3 separate regions of the Homo sapiens genome follow, and regions 1 and 3 are each linked to region 2. The links are contacts of gene promoters, found by promoter capture Hi-C in blood cells and fetal thymus (Javierre and others, 2016). All regions are on one chromosome and are shown on one strand. Each heading gives the region's core, a stretch centred on a gene start or on the middle of the fragment in contact. The rest is flanking DNA. Distances are from core to core; before and after follow the strand shown.

Region 1 (2,700 bases), core at 179-2,678, 1.6 Mb before region 2:
AGATTTAGTTCTGTACCAAATACAACTGACCTTTTGATTTGGCTATGTTCATGTAGGTTCTCCACCTCCCACTGATTTGTGAGCTTCCTAAGCACACTGTCAGGGTTTGAGATTTTACTCCCTTTCCCTTAGAAAGTAATGTTAGCCCGTCACCGTTAGGTGGATGCTGGCAGAGGATGTAAGCCTTTCCGGTCAGAGACTCATGGCACAGAAAGTGGCATGACTTGCCTCTATTCCTCTTGCTTCCCGGGCAGCATGGGGCAACAGGGCGGGGCCTGTTGGATGCCACGCCTGCAGTGGGCTGTGTTTCGGCTGACACAAAGGACTTGGGTAATCCACCATTTTTGTAGCAGGAAATAAGCAGGCCCGCACTTTGTTCTGGAATGCGACCTCACCTCTTAGTGTGGTTTGCTGCAAGCACAACCCTTAAAAAAGGCTTGAGTAAAGCAAAGCCAGGGTCTTGCGTATTTCACTGACCCACTAACAGGCGTGGGAGCAGGAGAGACGCACAGAGGAGGGCCTTTCCCAGCAGACACAGCTGAGTGGTTGTGGTCGGTTTGCATTTTGATGTCCACAGGATCAGTGTCTAGTACAAAGTAGGTGCTTAAGAAACGTTGATAAATTTGACCGAATCCAACATTTCACTGGGTTAGAATGAATTTACCACCACACAGCATAACTACATCACTACATCTATTGAGTATTATTCTCTACTACACAGATGGGTCCTCACACTATGGACCCAGGCAGCGTCAAGAGTCCAAAACGGTACCTTCTAAAGGAAGCAACCTAAAAATAAAAGAAATAGAATTACTGTTTGACTCATTAAAACTAATTTCTGTGAAATGAAATTTAGAAACTTCCTCAGCTCAGAGATAAAAGTCACTTTCTCTACTCTACACCATTAGTAAGAAGAAGGTAAAATTGCAGCATTGGACATTAAAATCAAGCACTAAGAAAGTTTTTTTAAAAAAGCCAGATGATGGTTATAATATATGGCAATTTTTATCTTCAAATTATGTGTGGCAATATTGTAACAAAAGACACAAGAAAAAAATATTTGAGGAAAGAAATAGTTGAGGAAAATAGTGCCTTATTACTTAGACAGAAAGCTAATGGGGCAAAGACCTATGTTCTGGGTAATTCTTAGTATACGTTTGAGGCTTAACAAATATCTAGCACATTTTTAGTAACAATGTTTGCGGATTTTTATATTTTGAATTGAAAATGCCATAAATGCACCTTCACGATAAAGGGTGAGCCCACTTTTGTATTATTCTGTAACTAAAACATGATGATATTTAAAACAACAAAGCAAAATGATGATCTAGATATTAATTTCCTTTAAAGTTTATATTGTGAGAGACAAGGGTGCCATTTTGAAATTGTGGTGTACTTTTAGTGTGAAGAAACTTTAAAACTAGGTACAAGTTTATCAAAATAAAACAGGTAAGTATCAAGTCTCAAAAATATGTATTTCATTTTCTGTGTGCTTTTAGTAGCAGTGAGAATCATGTTTTTAAATTCTCACTTTTACTACCTAAAAGGAAATTTTTGTAGTATAAAATATAATTTTAAGATGTTTTCAATATATAATTCCTATTTTTTTTCTCTTTTAGCAAGACAACCTTGGGCTGACATTCGAAATTTTTACTAAAGAACCAGCAAGTACTAAAATGCAGGCTGATGTTTACACTTTCAGTAGTAATTCTTAGAATGTGTTTATCTGAACTGAAATCTCTACTTAACAGTCAGCGGGAAATGGCAATAAATGGCATCTGCCCTAAATTTCACAAGTTGTTGCTTTATTTATTTTCTTGTGAACCTCATTAATCCATACTCCCTCAAGTCACTTTAGTTTAGTTAATATTATTTGTGTGACAAAAGTGTTTTGAACAAGGAAAAATGGAAAATTCATGTATAAATAGCTAATCATTGGTCTTAAACATAGCATATACACGGAGGCTCAGAGGACAGGTTGGTAAAGATTACTCAAAAGGAGAATTAAAAGACCGCTCAATTCTCAGTTGTGTCATAATCGTATCTTTATGGTAGCTACATATTATAAAATGTTTTTTATTTATCCCTCATACTAGTAAGCGTCAAATTCATGATCTTTGTGAGTATACTGACAAACTACTCTCACAAGCTATTACTATTATTGATATTTTATATATCAACTTTTTTTCATCCATAAAAGTACCTCAACGACATGTTCAGTAGCAAATAAGTTTTCAGATCCCTTCACTCTATTGAATAACAGCTCTGAACACTTTGACTAACTTGAATATCTTCTATTTGCAATGCCTAAAGATTGAGAATAAAGCAGTTAAGAAGGAAGGTGTAATTTGTAAATTTAGAATTGCCAAATTAGTAATGAGTATGTAAGTTCAAATAATTTTACGCAATCAAAAAGATAGTGACATTCGATGCTTATTGCCATTTGTTATTTATGTTTTTAAAATACATTTTTGTTATGTGTCATTTTCAGAGTATGTTTTCTTTCCTATCTTACTTTTTCCAATTTGCTTTTCAATCTTTCAAGATGACTTTGGCTTATCCTAAAAAGAATGTGAGACTTAAAGGTCAATGTAGGGGAGAAATACAATTAAAAAACACTTGGCTTGCCAGATAAGCAAATCTTGATTATAACTTATTTTTGATTAGGTAAACATTCTAAAATAATACTGAATTTAGATT
Region 2 (2,700 bases), core at 201-2,700:
AGCATATATAAAGTAGACCATTTACATAAATAAATTAATAATCATGGCAACTCTAGAAGATACTTAGTGAAAAAAACCCTTGATTGTCTTTGAACCAATCAACTAAAATAACATGATGAAATGGAGACTGGGCTTTGAATCAATTTGGAGTTTGCCTGGTTTCATAATTCATGGTTCTTCTCATGTAACTAATACAAAGTCCAGCTTCTGACATTGTAGGAGCTCAGTAGAGGTTGAACAAGCTACAAATGTACACGGATAGGTACCCTCTCCTAAGATGGGCAAGTGGAGGCTCCTCTACCTTAACACTATTCATTTTTCCTCCAAAATAAATTGATAACTAAATTGAAGAGCAGATACTCACAAAACAATATCATGAGACTTTACAACATCACAGATGATTTTAGATATTCAGGCATATTAGGTCAATTAGACATACGAAGTAAATAACTGAATGTTCTTGGGCTAGACGGAACCTCCGCTACAAACTAGCACTGAATGAAATGTGTCAGTTTTGAAAAAGGAGGTTTTTATACATTACACAACCTCTAAGGGCACTTAACAGCTCTAATATGTTTTATCAGGGCCCACTGCAGCAAAATTTATTTTATTGTAAAGCAATATTTTATGCTAAAATAAAATAGTTCTAAAAGTTGTTTCCACCCCTCTTTATGAATAACTTCTCACTTCTCCATGGCGAAAGAGGACTGACCACAGCAAAAATTCGGTGGAAACCAACAGCTCCTGGAACACAAAAACTGGGGTTGTTTATAATCTCTCCACCCTGAATATCTAGCACCATTACTATATAATAATAGGTGCTCAATAAAGGTTTGTTAAATAACTTTATTTTTAAACCTTAAACAGATACTAGAAGAGTCCATAGTTGATTTCTGGTCATGCAACGGTTTATTTCTATATTGTAAGTTATGTATTGTTATGTATTATTTCTGTATTAAGAGAACTGAGACCACAGTAGCAAACATCATTTAAAAAAAAAAACAGCTCTATATAGTTTGCAAAAGCCTATTTTTTAAAAGTTTAAATGAAACAACCAACGTTTTGAGTTGGGAGGATGTCCTGTTCTCTCTTGGGAGTTTTCACAACCAGCGAAATCAGTATAGTTACCACTGTTTTACGTACAGAGAACAAGAATTAGAGGCTATCACTAGCCAGAGCACAAAGTGATCTTAGGTCTCCCTCGAGACAAAATCCACTGGCGTGTGGATCAACTGCTTGCAGAGAGCATCTGCTGCCGAGGCCAATAGGAGCCGTGTGTACTCAAGACCCTAACCAGGATCCTGCAGGTCCCGCCTCCGCAGCCCCACGGGGCTGCCGGCCCCCCCACCTCCCATCGCGAGCCTGGCTGCGCCGGCGTGCTTGAGCCCGGTGACTGCAAGGCCCCGGGTCTCCCCTGCGCCTGCGCGGCGAGCAGCTGGCGGAACCGGCATCTTCTGGCGCCAGCTTCCGGCTTAGCGGCTGAGCTTCAGGCTTGACGTCAGGTGGGAAGGGTGTGGGGTGGCAGGTGGGGGCGGTTGGGAGGTTGGGGGGGGTTGGGGTGGGGGGGGTGGGGGGTGGCAGATTGACGGTGTGGGGGGAGTCAAGTGGAAGGTGTGGTCCAGCAGGCGGCGAGAAGTCTGTGGGGCAACAGACCGGGGGAAGGTCTGTGGGGCGTCAGGCGGGGTATCTGTGGGACGTCAGGTTGGGGTCTGTAGGGCGTCACGTTGGGGGTCTGTGGGGCGTCAGAGGGGGGAATCTGTGGGGCGGCAGGTGGGGGGTGTTCGGGGCGGGGTTTGGGGTGTGTGTGGCGGCAGGAGGCGGGGGAGGTCTGTGGGGCGTCAGGTTAGGGTCTGTGAGGTGTCAGGCGGGGTTTACGTGGGGTGGCAGGTGTGGGGTGTGTGGAGAGTCAAGTGGGGGGTGTGGGGCGTCAGATTGGGGGTCTGGGGGATCAGATGGGTGGTGTCTGGGACGTCAGGCGGGGGTCGGGGGGTCGTCAGGCGGGGGATGTGTGGGGAGTCAAGTAGGGGAAGTGGGGCGTCAGATTGGGGGTCTGGGGGATCCGGTCGTGGGGGTGTCTGGGACGTCAGGCGGGGGGCCTGAGGGGCGTCAGGTGGGGGGGTCTGGGAGGCGTCAGGCGGGGGTCGGTCTATGGGGGCAGCAAGCAGGGTGTTTGTGCAGCGGCAGGTGATGGGAGTTGCCGAGTCCACAGCGCTGTAGACTGCGCCGCATTAGAAGCCTGGCCTCCTGATGCTGTGCTCTTCATCTAGACCCAAGCCCCAGGTCGTGGGACGATTTCTCCCGTTTTTGACTCCCTGGAACTGTATTGCCTGCTTTACCTGCGTACATGTTGATTCTTTCTCATGGCAACCCCGCAGGAAACCATCAAGATCTCATTTTACAGCTGGGATTCTCTGGTTCACAGAGGTAACGGAGCTTGCCCGAGGCCAGGTATTCACTGGGAATCCGTGAAGGGTTGGGGGAGAGTAGGGGGAACGGGCAGAGGAATGATGTAGACTCCTTAGGGATTTTCCATTTTCCGAGAGGGTACAGGGGGCATTGGAGCGGGAGAGACTTTAGGCTTGGAGGGAATTACTTTATTTCTCTTCTTACACTTGGTCTTTCATTAACTTTTGGGATCCCAAAGCCCTTCTAGCGTCTTTGTCTGCTCATTTCTTTTTGCTGAGATTGTCCCAAATTGTC
Region 3 (2,700 bases), core at 59-2,558, 1.9 Mb before region 2:
TGTCAAGGCCAGACTGTCTCTGAGGCTCGGGGTAGAAGCTGTCCTGCCTCTTCCCGGTTTCCGGTGGGGCCAGCGGTGCTCGCGGATGCTCCTGCAGGCTTGTACATGCGTCGTCACAACCTCCGCCTTCAGCCACACCCCGTGTTCTTCTTGTGTGTCTCGGTCTTCACGTGGCGTGCCTCTTTTTTATAAGGACAGTGGTTTTATTGGATGCGGGGCCCACCCCATTCCAATGTGACCTCGTTCTAATTAATTACATCTGCAAGGACCTTATTTCCAAATAAGGTGACATTCTGAGGTCCTGGGGGTTAGGACTTCAACATCATTTTTGGAGAAAACCATTCGACCTTTGACAATGCCCAAGTAAAACGGTTTCATTTTTAGCGAGTGGACGTTCGAGTTCTCTATTTGAGGCATTTTTCTCAAGGATTTCTAACAATAGCTCACGTTATAGGTTGCGTTTATTTTTCACCATAATGATTTTTAAAATGTCAAAGCCTTGGCCCAACGACATGGGTGAGTTTGTTTTTATTGTTAGAAAGGATTCTATGCTGCTTTCAAATGTCTGCAGGTTTATTTTTAGCTGGACAGGAAGTGCATCTTACGCTTATGTTGGTTTGTAGGCTGCCCCCTTTTTTGGAGGAATGTTATTGTTAGAAAACCACGTTCAGTTTGGAGATGAGTTTGGATTGAGCACCACGCAAATCTAAGTTATAATTATACTACTCTCCGCTATAGATTTTCCAAAATAATCTTTCTGTTCATCAGAATTTGAAACCTTTCAAATAATGGTTCCGTTTGTTATTCACAATTTCACAGCCCAGCAGCTGCCTTTTATTTGTCTTTAAATGAAAGGTCAAGAGGTTTTGATGTAACCTGGGGTTGAATTGAAGGTAGCATGTCCATGTAGTGAGATGTAAAGTGAAAAATAAAAAAAAAAAAACATAAAAATGCTATGTCGTGACCACAAGATACCAGAATCATTCTTATTTGTTATGACTAAACATCCAGTTATTTCAAAGGGAGGGAAATAGTTCAATCCAGAGCTTACCTAAATTTTTCATTGTTTCAGCAAAGGGGCTTGTGATTTGGGGGAAGTTTAGTTCTTAAGTAGAGGACCTTTCCATCAGACAAGCTGCTTGTATTTGTTGCTGGTGCCACGGATAAGCTAGTATTTCAGAAGAGAGCAAGGTAATCCCATCCTAATGCCGTAATGAGGGTCACAGTGAGGTACGGGAAACGGTGGGACTTTCCACCTAAAAATATCTGCCAGCAGTTATATTGTCAGTTGGCTGTGATCTCCACCTCCAGCAGTGAACCTTCGGGGAGGAGGTTCTTTGACCTTCCTTGGTGTGATTGCCTGGGGAAAGTGATCATTTCATGGAATCGTGTCTGTTTCTCCATCCTCTTCTTTGAGGGACTTCTGAATGAATAAGGTATCACTCTCACACCCCAAACCAACACTTTAACCCTCTGTTGAAATACTATTTAAAGGATGGTTGCATGAGGATGGATTCTATTTTTGCCTGTGACCAAACACAATGAGTCTTAAAAAATAGCCTAGATTTCTTTCTGCTTTGCCTTGAGTGATGATTACAAACACCCCAGCCTTCCACGTTGGTAAGGGCCACTCTCAGGTTCACTAGTATATCTGATGGTGACCACTTACTAAGGTGCCTCCTGTGAGCCGGGCACATATCATGTGTGTGGCACGTCCCATCTCATTTACTCCTTACAACAGCCAGATGAGCTACAACACCCAGATGGTGCTCCCTATATCGCCTTTACAGAGAGGTGACATGGTGGTATGGAGGTAGCCAGGAAAAACCGCGCGGAGGCTCCGACCATCCATCTCTTTGCTTTAGGCCTGGGATCACTTGCAGATGAACCATCTGCCCCCTCCCTTGGGCTTTCTGGAGGGATGGACAAAGTACAGTATTAAGGCTACGCTTCTCTCTGTGCAAACAGCCCTCTTCCCATTTTAGGAAGGAAGCTCTTTATGCTGGAGAGACCCCCATGAACTAAGGAGCAGCTCAAAGCGAGCTTCCATGTCCTTCCAGGGGTCTGTGGATCTTCTGCTACTGCTTTAGCATCTCTGCTCTCCTCCCCTTCCCAGGCTCTGATAGAACCCTGAGGGCCTCACTTCCCTTGCTTCTGGACTTGCAACTAGGAATACATTTAAAAAGTCTCCTCCAGAGGAGCACAATTCCAGCTAAGCCAATCATCCATTCGAACCTTCATGTCTTGGGTTATCGGTTTTCTACTGCAAGGGACGCACCTCGTTCCTTGGAGGGTTACATGGGGTTTGTTGATGGTGTAATCAATTGCCCATGTGATTTGGAAAGACAAACTCGGCGGGTTGAAGCAGGATGTATCCTTCCACATTTTAATTGCTCCCAAGAATGATCAGATAATTGCCTTCCTTTGAAGGATCCATGAGAATGTGCTGAAGTGTCCCAGCAAAACAAAAGAGAGTCTCTGAGCGGCTTCTATTCTTGTCTGGCTCTGTTGACAGCGATTGAATGCTCTGGGGAAGAGAAAAGGCTGGCAGGGAGCCTGGGCCCAGAGGAACGTGAGGAGAGCTGGGCCCCCTCCGAGAGACGTTAGTGTGCTGTGCTCATTAGAAGGAGAATGTGCCACTTGTACTGCCTTCTGCTTACTGCCCCTCCTCCAGGGAGGACTTGTTGAAGGCATGAGAAA

Evidence for each region. The method cuts DNA at HindIII sites, captures the fragments that hold promoters and counts their contacts. A CHiCAGO score of 5 or more calls a contact.
Region 1: a fragment that was not itself captured here is called in contact with the fragment with the promoter of LIG4 in region 2 in 3 of 17 cell types (naive CD4 T cells, monocytes and naive B cells); the score reaches 6.6 in naive CD4 T cells.
Region 3: a contact is called between a fragment that was not itself captured here and the fragment with the promoter of LIG4 in region 2, in 1 of 17 cell types (monocytes). The highest score is 5.2, in monocytes.

What each region holds. Positions count from the first base shown.
Region 1 is chr13:109,791,910-109,794,609 of GRCh38, reverse strand. No RefSeq gene overlaps it. Among named protein-coding and RNA genes, the nearest start is that of IRS2, 6.7 kb to the right of the region's middle. The HindIII fragment of the contact is 4,709 bases long and covers 1-2,700 here.
Region 2 is chr13:108,214,286-108,216,985 of GRCh38, reverse strand. It overlaps LIG4 (DNA ligase 4), which reads left to right and starts at 1,450. Exons shown (of 3, transcript NM_206937.2): 1 at 1,450-1,502; 2 at 2,376-2,448. RefSeq lists a silencer at 1,248-1,387 and an enhancer at 1,231-1,525. The HindIII fragment of the contact is 5,824 bases long and covers 1-2,700 here.
Region 3 is chr13:110,126,673-110,129,372 of GRCh38, reverse strand. LINC03082 (long intergenic non-protein coding RNA 3082) reads left to right here and starts at 237. Exons shown (of 3, transcript NR_187462.1): 1 at 237-516. RefSeq lists enhancers at 1,659-2,466, 2,467-2,700. The HindIII fragment of the contact is 4,195 bases long and covers 1-2,700 here.